Regions from separate parts of the Homo sapiens genome. Here region 2 is linked to region 1. Evidence: promoter capture Hi-C in human tissues and cell types (Jung and others, 2019). All regions are on one chromosome and are shown on one strand. The core of a region is centred on a gene start or on the middle of the fragment in contact, and the rest is flanking DNA. Distances in the headings are between cores, read along the strand shown.

Evidence for each region. Contacts are between HindIII fragments. The study calls those that stand out against the background at their distance.
Region 2: the fragment with the promoter of LHX6 here is called in contact with the fragment with the promoter of PTGS1 in region 1 in 1 of the 25 tissues and cell types used here (adrenal gland).

Annotation. Positions count from the first base shown.
Region 1 is chr9:122,368,448-122,373,127 of GRCh38, forward strand. PTGS1 (prostaglandin-endoperoxide synthase 1) reads left to right here and starts at 2,577. Exons shown (of 11, transcript NM_000962.4): 1 at 2,577-2,644; 2 at 2,739-2,825. The coding sequence starts at 2,638. The HindIII fragment of the contact is 15,948 bases long and covers 1-4,680 here.
Region 2 is chr9:122,225,914-122,230,526 of GRCh38, forward strand. It overlaps LHX6 (LIM homeobox 6), which reads right to left and starts at 3,044. Exons shown (of 10, transcript NM_014368.5): 1 at 2,744-3,044; 2 at 1,496-1,567; 3 at 935-1,117; 4 at 463-584. The coding sequence starts at 2,827. RefSeq lists an enhancer at 771-1,276. The HindIII fragment of the contact is 8,045 bases long and covers 1-4,613 here.

The sequences.
Region 1 (4,680 bases), core at 1,327-3,826:
TTTATCCGCCAGATCCTATGCTTGGCCTTGGGGCTACAAGAGTGACCAGGACTCTTATAGCCTCATAATGTTTGGGGGCAGAGGGACAATGTGATCAGGAGTGGCACTGCTGTGGCCAGGGAAGGCACAGGGGCTTCCTAGAGGAGAGAAGGGGGAGGAGGAGGCATGTTAGAGGAGGCCTACCAGGGGACATGGGAGGTGGACTTGCCCTATAAGTGGAAGCTCACAATCTTGAGGACTAGGATGGTGACACCAGTCCTAGGCATTTAGACTATAGCTTTGCAGTAGGGAGCAGGAAAAGGTGGCCCTGTGCTGTGGTCTCTTTCCCAGGGCTGGGGCAAGGGCTACCCCAGACCTCTCCCCTGTGTATCCAGCTGCATGCTGGGGCGGTTGGGGGTGCTGGCCCATGGGCCAAGCTGGAGAAGGCAGGGAAGGTTTGATCCTCCTCATTCCTTGAAGTGGATCAAATACAAGAAGCCCAAATTCAAATTCCACCTACCCATGCCAGCTCCCCTTCCCTGGATATTACCACCAGCATTGAGCCAGAAGGCTAGGTGTCCTCAGCACCTTTCTTCCCCTAAGCTCTAGTGCTAATCGGTCACCAAGCCCTGGCACTTCTGCCACCATTTCTCTCATCTACCTTCTCCCCACTCCATGCTCTTGGTCCTGCCTCATCCCTGGAGGGCTGCCTCGGCACCCTGCCTGCTCTCTCAGACTCCATCCTCTCCTGTATTGCAGCTGTGTTGAGATCTGTGGTGCTGGTCACAGAGCCTGGCTGCAGTGAGGGCTCAATTGCTCCATGCTGGAACTGGACCAGTCCTCAGAGACCATCTGATCTGCTCATTCTGTTGTTCAAATGGGGAAACAGAGGCCCAGTGAGGCCTAGCGGCTTGTTTAAGGTCACGCTATGGAAGAAGTGACTTGAACTCACTTCTGATTCTGAGGTGAAGGCTCTTCCCATCAGTGCCAGGGCCACACAAGTGTTTCTTGTTTTGAGTGCAGATGGGTGGCTTGGAAGTCAGCAGGAGGCACAGGTGTGGTGACTTGATGGGCTCAGGGCCCAAAGGGAGGGAGGGCCTGGGAGTGGAAGATGGAACCTCATTCAAGCCCGTCTCTCCTTTCTTCTCACCAGAAACTCCCCCTTTCTTTGGACAACTGGACCCCCACACCTCCACCCTGTCCCCATCCCTTTTGCTGATAATCCCATCTCCTTGCCCTGTAAATGCTAGGGGGCCCTTGATTTGGGGAGGAAGGGAAGGCTGAAGCCGGTCCCGGCACCCTGAGAGCCCCAGGGCCCTCCAATGCCCCACTCCTTCTCCAGGTCTGCCCTGGCTTGCTCTGTCTCCCTAGGGCAGCTGGCTTTTGTCCCAGGGGAGCATGGGAACAGCTTGGGTGAGAATGGGGGAGGGGCTTCCCAGCAGGTTTCACCTCTCCCACCTGGCATAATTTCTACCCTGCACCCAGTGATGCCCAGGAGCCAGCACAAGAACCTCTGAGCTCTCCTGCCGGCTTTCCCCACTGTGGGGCCCACAGGATGGCTGGGTGTGCTGGGGAAACTGAGGGAGATGACTTGTGGGTGCCAGCACCATGGGACTTTGGGTGATCTTGGACCTATTCCTTCCTCCTTCTAGGTGCTTCCTGAGCTGGCGAAAAGGAGAGCTGGATGCTGGGATTCTATAAATTCGGCGGTGGATGTGAGTCTAGCTACAGCATGGACCCTGGCCAGCCCTGGAATCTGAGTTCAGAGATCTTTGAAAAAATGCCTTCCGATAACTGAGCACCTACTACATGCTGGACACTGCACCAGGAGATTTGTGTGCATTCCCTCATTGAATCTTACAACCACCCTCTGGGATGGTTTTTGCTATTAAGCCGATTTTATAGATGAGAATACTGAGGGCTAGAAAAGATAAGTACCTTGTCCAAGGTGACACGGCCAGTAAGCTGTGGAGTCTGGATTTGAACTAGGCTCTCTTGGAGTTTGGAGCCCGGTCTTTTCATTTCTGGCAGAGACCTGTGGCTTCAGGGGGCGGAGCCCAGCCCATGGGGGAAGTAAGTCCTTCCTGTTAGATCTGTCTGAGGAGTAGTGAGTTTCTCATCTAGGAAACCATCAGCAGGCCAGGCTGGACTGCCCCATTTCTAGCCCCCTTTCTTCTCTGCAGACTGCCCTGTTTCTAGCCCCTTTTCTTCTCTACCCTTTTCTGTAGAGTGCGTTAGACCCATTTTACAGAAGGGGACTCTGAGACCCTTTCTTCTCTGCGGGGCAGGGTATGTGGTTCAGACGAGCCGCTTCCATCCCCAGTTCTGTCCCTAAGCCCTGGGTGACCTCAGCATTGAGCATCGTCTCTGAGCCTCAGTTTCCTGTCTATATCTAGTGCCACCAGGCATCAGAAACGTAAGTGCTTCAAGGATCTTGGGTGAAAAGCCGCTTTAGCGGCGAGCATACACTAATTAATAAAATGCCTTGGCCGGGGCTGGGCAGAGGAAGTAAGCGGGCAGCCGAGGTGACAGCTGGAGGGAGGAGCGGGGGTGGAGCCGGGGGAAGGGTGGGGAGGGGATGGGCTGGAGCTCCGGGCAGTGTGCGAGGCGCACGCACAGGAGCCTGCACTCTGCGTCCCGCACCCCAGCAGCCGCGCCATGAGCCGTGAGTGCGACCCCGGTGCCCGGTGGGGAATTTTCTTGGCCTCCTGGTGGAGCCTTGAATGCCAGGCTCAGCCCCTCATCTCTCTCCTCTGCAGGGAGTCTCTTGCTCTGGTTCTTGCTGTTCCTGCTCCTGCTCCCGCCGCTCCCCGTCCTGCTCGCGGACCCAGGGGCGCCCACGCCAGGTAGGCGGCCCCATCCCTCCCCAAGGGAATCCCCGGTCTTGCGCCCCTGGCCTGGTTTCAACCCCCTCCTTTCCCCTCCAGCGGGCCCAGCTTCCCCTTTCTGCTCGCGGTGCTGAGAAAGACTGAGGCTGAGTCTTTTGGTGGGATGGGGGCTCCCTGAAGCCCCCCCGGCGGTGTGGCCTTGGCTAATGGGCTATCTAGTTCTTTCAGGGGAAACAGCAGACTGGGATCTGGTGCCAACTTGGGGAGAAGGGACAGTCCCTATCCATCCCCCTCACCTGTTCTGGGCCCCAGATGTCTAAGCAGCCTCTGCACCCAACAACCCCGCTGTTTCCTATAGGGGCCTCTTTGGGAGGAAGCCGCAGGCACCAAGGGAAATGAGTTCCCTTTCTCCAGCCTCTAACCGTCTGGGAACCCATCCTGATTCCCATTGCCAGTGGAGAAGGTCTCCCCTGGTGAAGACTTCGGGAGAACATGGGAGATGGAAATACATTTAGGAGCCGGGATGCTTCATCTGGGGTTTAAGAGATCCCCATTGAGCAAATGAGGAAACCGAGGCTCAGTAGGTGCCATGATTCCCCAAGCTCACAAAATACATGGTGGGCCCAGGATCTGAACTCAGGTCTGTCTGCGTCCACACACTTCGCAAGGTCTTTCCACAGAAAGCTGCTTCTACCCACAATGGACCCGGAGCCACTCTGGGTTTCATGGGGGAGGTTGATGGGGAAATTCCGCCCTTCCCTCCCCCATGCATGTGCCAGGTTCCAGGTGAAGGAATTCAGCTCCTCGCTCAGCCAACCTTCCTCCCCCAGCTCGCTGCTTGTGTGTGTGCGTGTGTGTGAGCATGTGTCCCAGTTGGATATAGTTTCCTCCACCACCTAGCTGTGTAAAATCTCTAAAATGAGGCCCAGAGAGGGCAGGAGGGAGCAGAGGGAGTCCGCACTTTCTGCTGTGATGCTCTAAGGATCTGGTGCGTGGGGGAAAGAGGAAAGATATGTACATGGATTTTGGATCAGACCAAGTTTCCTGAAACGGGCTTTGGGTGGGTGGCATTTAGGGGACCCAAAGAGAGGACGGAGGGTGCTCTAGGAAAGGGATTGCGTTGAATAAAAGTCTGGTTTATGGGAAGAGGAGGAGGAAGACTCATGTGGCCAGCACTTTAAAGTTTACAAAGGTTGGTTGTGGACATCCACCTCTTTGGTGCTCTCAACAGCCCTGCCAGAGAGATGCGTTAGACCCAGTCTACAGAAGGGGACTCTGAGGCCCAGAGGGAGTGAAGCCACTTGTCTGAATCCTCACAGTGAGCTGGTGGTGGGGAGTAGAAGGGGCTCTTCAGGTTGCCTCGCTGACCCATCTTGTCAGTCCCTGGATCAGCCCAGCACTTCCTCTGAGGCCCCATCTGGCCTCATCCAGGCACTCTTGGTATACAGGTCCCACCCGTCTGTATTCTTTTTTAGTCCATTCACTAATGCACAATGAGCCATGGTCTGTGCTATTTTGTTTTTTGCCTTTTCTGTTTCCTTTTGTATAATAAATGTTTACACGGAATTGTTTTTTTTTATCCCCAAGGGTTATTTATGCCAGTCTTTGGCTGGGGCCTGGAGACACGGAGCTGGGAGGAGCTGACAGGCTGATGGTGGAGCCAGAAATGCCAACAGACTGTCATCCAAGGGGACCAGGGCTGTGCGGAGCTCATGGGAGGAAGCAGGGGTATAGGGAGCCCAGGGAAGGGAGCAGGGGTGTGCGGAGCTCAGGGGAGGGAGCAGCTGCCTCTCAGTGCGAAGAATTGAGGGAGGCTTCTTGGATCTGATGACTTTTGGACTGGACCTCGAAGGAGGTGGCGGGTGGGGGAAAC
Region 2 (4,613 bases), core at 1,794-4,293, 140 kb before region 1:
GCTCAGCGTCCAGCCCGCGAGAGACCCCACCATGAATGACGTCCGAGTAGGGTTGGAACTCGAAGCCCGAACGCACTGGAAATGCAGCCGGACGACGGCTGGGATCCGAGTGGGTCCGGGCCAGAAATGGGGACCTCAGAGCTCCACCGAGGCGCTCGAGGTCAGAACTGAAGCCTGAGACTTAGGCAGGACCCGAGACAGAGCCAGAGACGATACCGAAACCCAATGGACCGCGAGGACCGAAGGCAGATCCGGGGCGCAAACCTGTGCAGGCACTGGCGCGCTGCCTGGAGCTCTGGGTTCGCGCCGCTGAGCGCCGGCAGGTTGGACCAGCGCTGCGCGCCGGAAGTGCACTCGGGACGCCGGGGTTCTGGAGGAGAGACCACACGCCGCAAAAGTGGCCTCCGAATGCGCCCGGGGCCTGCCCTCGGCGACACTGCTGGCTCGGCGGCCGCAGCCTACCTGAAGTAGTCCATCTTGCAGAAGATCTCCTTGTTCTTGATGTAGCAGCTGTTCTGCTGCCTCAGCGACGTGCGACACACGGAGCACTCGAGGCACCGCACGTGCCAGATGAGGTTGTTGACCTGGGGACGGGGCGGGGACGGAGGTCGGCTCAGCGCGGGCCTCTTTCACTCCGGGCCCCAGCCTTCCCGGTCTCATTTACAGTCAGAGGCGCTGAAGCTCAGAAGGTGCATGCGATTCCCCTATTTTTCTCCCGTAATACTGAGACTCAGGGAAATGGAAATAAACTCTTCTTATTTTTCAGACGGAACCCGGGGGCTCAGGCAGACCCTAAGTCTTGCCCAAAGCTTCGCAGTCGGGCAGCAGTGGAGCCAGGATTTGGAAGTAAGAGGACCTGCGGTGCTTCCCTGCAGTCTCCTGCGCTGCGTCCCACGCCCCGACAACACGCACGCAACACCTACCCCTGTCTCACCTTGAGCAGATATCGGTCCAGGATCTCGAGGCCGCAGCTGGAGCAGATGTTCTTGCCTGCAGACGGCACGGAGGAGGCGGCAGAGGGCGGTGAGCAGACAGATGGCGTGCTGGGCGTACATGGGGAGGCCTGACCCTCGTCCTTGTCCAGAGCTCCTGCCAGGGCCTCGGCGTCAGACTGAGCCTGCGGCGGGGGAGAGAAGGAGAGGAGCGCTGATCCGGGCACCCAGAGTTGGGGCTGCCTTGGAGACAAATCTGGGGCCCCCGAGCACCAATTGACAACGAAATCTCCCCAGGACAATGCGCCGTAGACTGAAGGACAGGGATGGAAGGGCCTATTGGAGAGGAAGGGACGGCCCCAACTTTTAACACGCGCATTCTGGGTGCTGGGAGCGGTTAAAGCCAACATTCCCTGCCGGAAAACCGAGGCTCAGAGAGGGGCGGCGCCCGCCGGGAGTCCCCCAGAGCGTGAGCAGCAGTTCGTGGCCGGAAAACCTGGCCAGGTCCCCAGGGCCGGGCCGCTGGAGGACTGGGCACCGCAGGCAGGGCCAAACGGACTCACCATGGCGGGCGGCGCGGTCCCTTCAAGACAGCGGGTGGTCGCTTTGCAGCCGGACCCTGGCTGGGCCATCACCTGGGGGAGGGGGGGAGGGAACGCAGGCGGCGGCGGCTGCTGAACTGGCTCCGCACAGCCTGAGCCCAGCGCCTCCCCGCGCCTGTTATATAAACCGGCGCCGAACAATGAGTCCTAACTTTGTAGTGGGCATTTAAAGCCCTTCCCCACAAAAGCGGTGTCTCTCTAATGAAGCAATTTGAATTTGGATTGGATTTTTTCCCTCTCTCTCCCCCTCTCCCTGCACTTAACCCGTGGCTCTTGAAGTAATCGCTTAGTTCCCTTGCAATCCAAGCCTCTGAGGGGGGAAGAAAAACACGCGCACACACACACAAACTACCTGCAATTAGAAATTGTCGTGAATGCCCAAGATAAGAGGTAGCCAGAGTGTCAATTCCAACTGTCAATCAGTGAGATCCATCAGGCCGCCCAAAGAATTGCAAATTTGATTTTTTAATGGTAGTAATTAAAAATCGAATTTTTTCTCTCTCCACCCGCCCCCCCACCCCACTCCCCTTCCTCGCTCCCTTCTCCTCTCGGCACAAAATGCAAAAAGGAGAAAAGAGAGAAAGAAAGAAAATAAAAAAGAGATGGGTGAGGGGCGGAGGGTGGTTGAAGAAAAGAAAACCCCGAGCGCGGTGAGCACCCGCCCGCCCGCCCGCCTGACACGCGCGGCGAAATTGAAGCAGCTATATTGACACGGATTCAGGCGCCTTTCGAGGGCCAGTCGGAGGGAAACCCGGAGCAAAAAGAGAGCGAGATCGGGGCGAAACGGGACCAAAAAGAGAAAAGAGAGGCGCTCAAGGGGAGGAAAAAGCACCCTCCAGCCCCTCGGCGCGCCGGGTACCGGCCCCGCGTCGGGATTCTCAGCGCTGCGCCGGCACAACCCCCGGCGCATCGGCGCTATCAGCGCCTATTCAGACGGACAATACCGGCCTCGCCTCCTCTTGATTCGCCTGTGTCTTTACTAAATCGCTTTTTGAGAAATTCCTCCAACATTTGCATAATGTGTTCCCGCTTTCCGCGACCCCCCCCCCCCGCTCGCGCGCGCGCTCCCACACTCACAAGCACACACTCACAGGCGCACCCTCGTACCCCTCCTTCCTGCAACCGCCCGCCACCCTGCTCGGCCCGGCTGGGTCCCGGACCCTGCCCGACCCCGGCCCGGGCCGCTCACCCAGTCGTTCGCCGGCTCACCTGGTCGGTGGCGGGGCCGCCCTCGGCCGGCAGCCGGCAGCCCTCGGGCAACGCCGGGGCGGCGTTCTCATGCTTCCAGTACATGGGCCGGGGAACCTCGGGCTCAGCGGGCGCGCAGCGCGGAGAGCTGCGCCGAGGGGGACCACAGCCGCAGTGGGAGCAGAGGCTGCTGCAGGAGCAGGAGGAGAGCCGAGGCGCCGGCCCCGCCGCCCCGGGCCCGGCCTCAGCCCCCGCCCCCGGCCCGCGCGCAGCCCCGGCCTCCCTGGCTGCTGCCGCCGCTGCCTCGGAAGAAGGTCCCGACAAACTTGGAGAGGCCCCCGCCCCCTCCTTCTTCTCCTCCTCCCCCTCTTGGTAGTCCTCCTCCTCCTCTCCCTCCTCCTTGTCCTCCTCCCCCTCCAGCTGCAACGGCGGCCGCCCTGCCGCTGGAGCCCCGCTCGGTTCAAGATGAGTCATGCGTGACCAATCCCCTCCCCGCCAAGGGAGAGCAAGACACACACGACGAGGCAGAGACCCAGAGAGAGAGACACACACACAGACACAGAGACACACAGAAACTCAGAGCTGCCGACAGAGAGACTCGGAGACACGCCAGTACACAAAGGCACCGGCGGGCACACATCCACCCAGCTCTCACTACCGCTCCTCCCTCAAGGGGCACCCATCTTCCTCAGACACTGCCCCACTCACAGGTACAGGAGGGACCCATGGCCATACCATCTGCGGAGATAGATTCCGTAGGAGGTCACACGTTATTACACTGTGTTGATGCAATCCCATGCCTGGTACATTTGTGTACACACTAATGTAAGTGATTACCTGTTCACATCATTTACACGGGCACGAGGCACCACACTTACTCTCACACACCTGCACAGATACCTCTGCTCTATAAGAACCAGACAGTGCACCAGCTCCCAGGGACTGAGGTGAAACGGGAGGGTAGTTTCCCTGAATTCTCTTGGAAGGGATTGCTTGGCACATTCCCCTTCCCTTCAGGATTTGCTTAACCACACAGTCCAATGCCCATCCCTTCTTCTCTAGGGTTCTACTGACAATGAGAATGGTAGGGAAGGCAGGAAGGCCCAGGCATTTAGACAGAAGACACTGCCCCCAGACACACAGACACAGAACCTTCAAACCCAAAGATGGAGCCTTACACACACTAACGCCCTGCAGCATACACAAGTGGACACTTAGAGTCTCAGCCCCCTTCTCCACACACAAACTGAGCCTAAAGAGACACATGTAAACATACATCATCTAAAAACAAATAAGCACACTCAGACATAGATCCAGCCCTACAGACACCATGACAGCCTACCCTCACCACATCACACATGTCATCACCTCCATAATTGCCCTCATTTACAGATGTAAACACCCCCCCACACACAATTGTTCTTCCATTTGTACACACAGCCATACTCAAGAGGGCACAGATTTTCACAGAGCTCCAAACCCATGTATAACCTTATGTCCTCTACTCAGGCACCCTCAAATATGTACTTACATCCTTACAGATGGTGAGACAACTATTGATAGGCATTTATAGGCAGACACATCACACACACTTCTGCAGCCATAGATTCCCAATAGTTATAGTCTCAGTTTGCACACACACAGGCAGGTTCTGACAGGCGCAGGTAGTAGAGGATGCCTGCACACCAACACGATACTAAAGATCCACACCCATATTCCCCAAAGATACAAATATCTGTTCCTTTACTGGCATCAAGGTACACAAAAATAGCCCCAGCCTCAGCTAATGGCATTTCCCGCCCTCTGCATCCCAGTCATTCATTGCTCTCAGACACAGAAATTCAGAGTGAAAAGAGTTTCTCTTTGAACCCTAATCTTTTATACGAAGAGA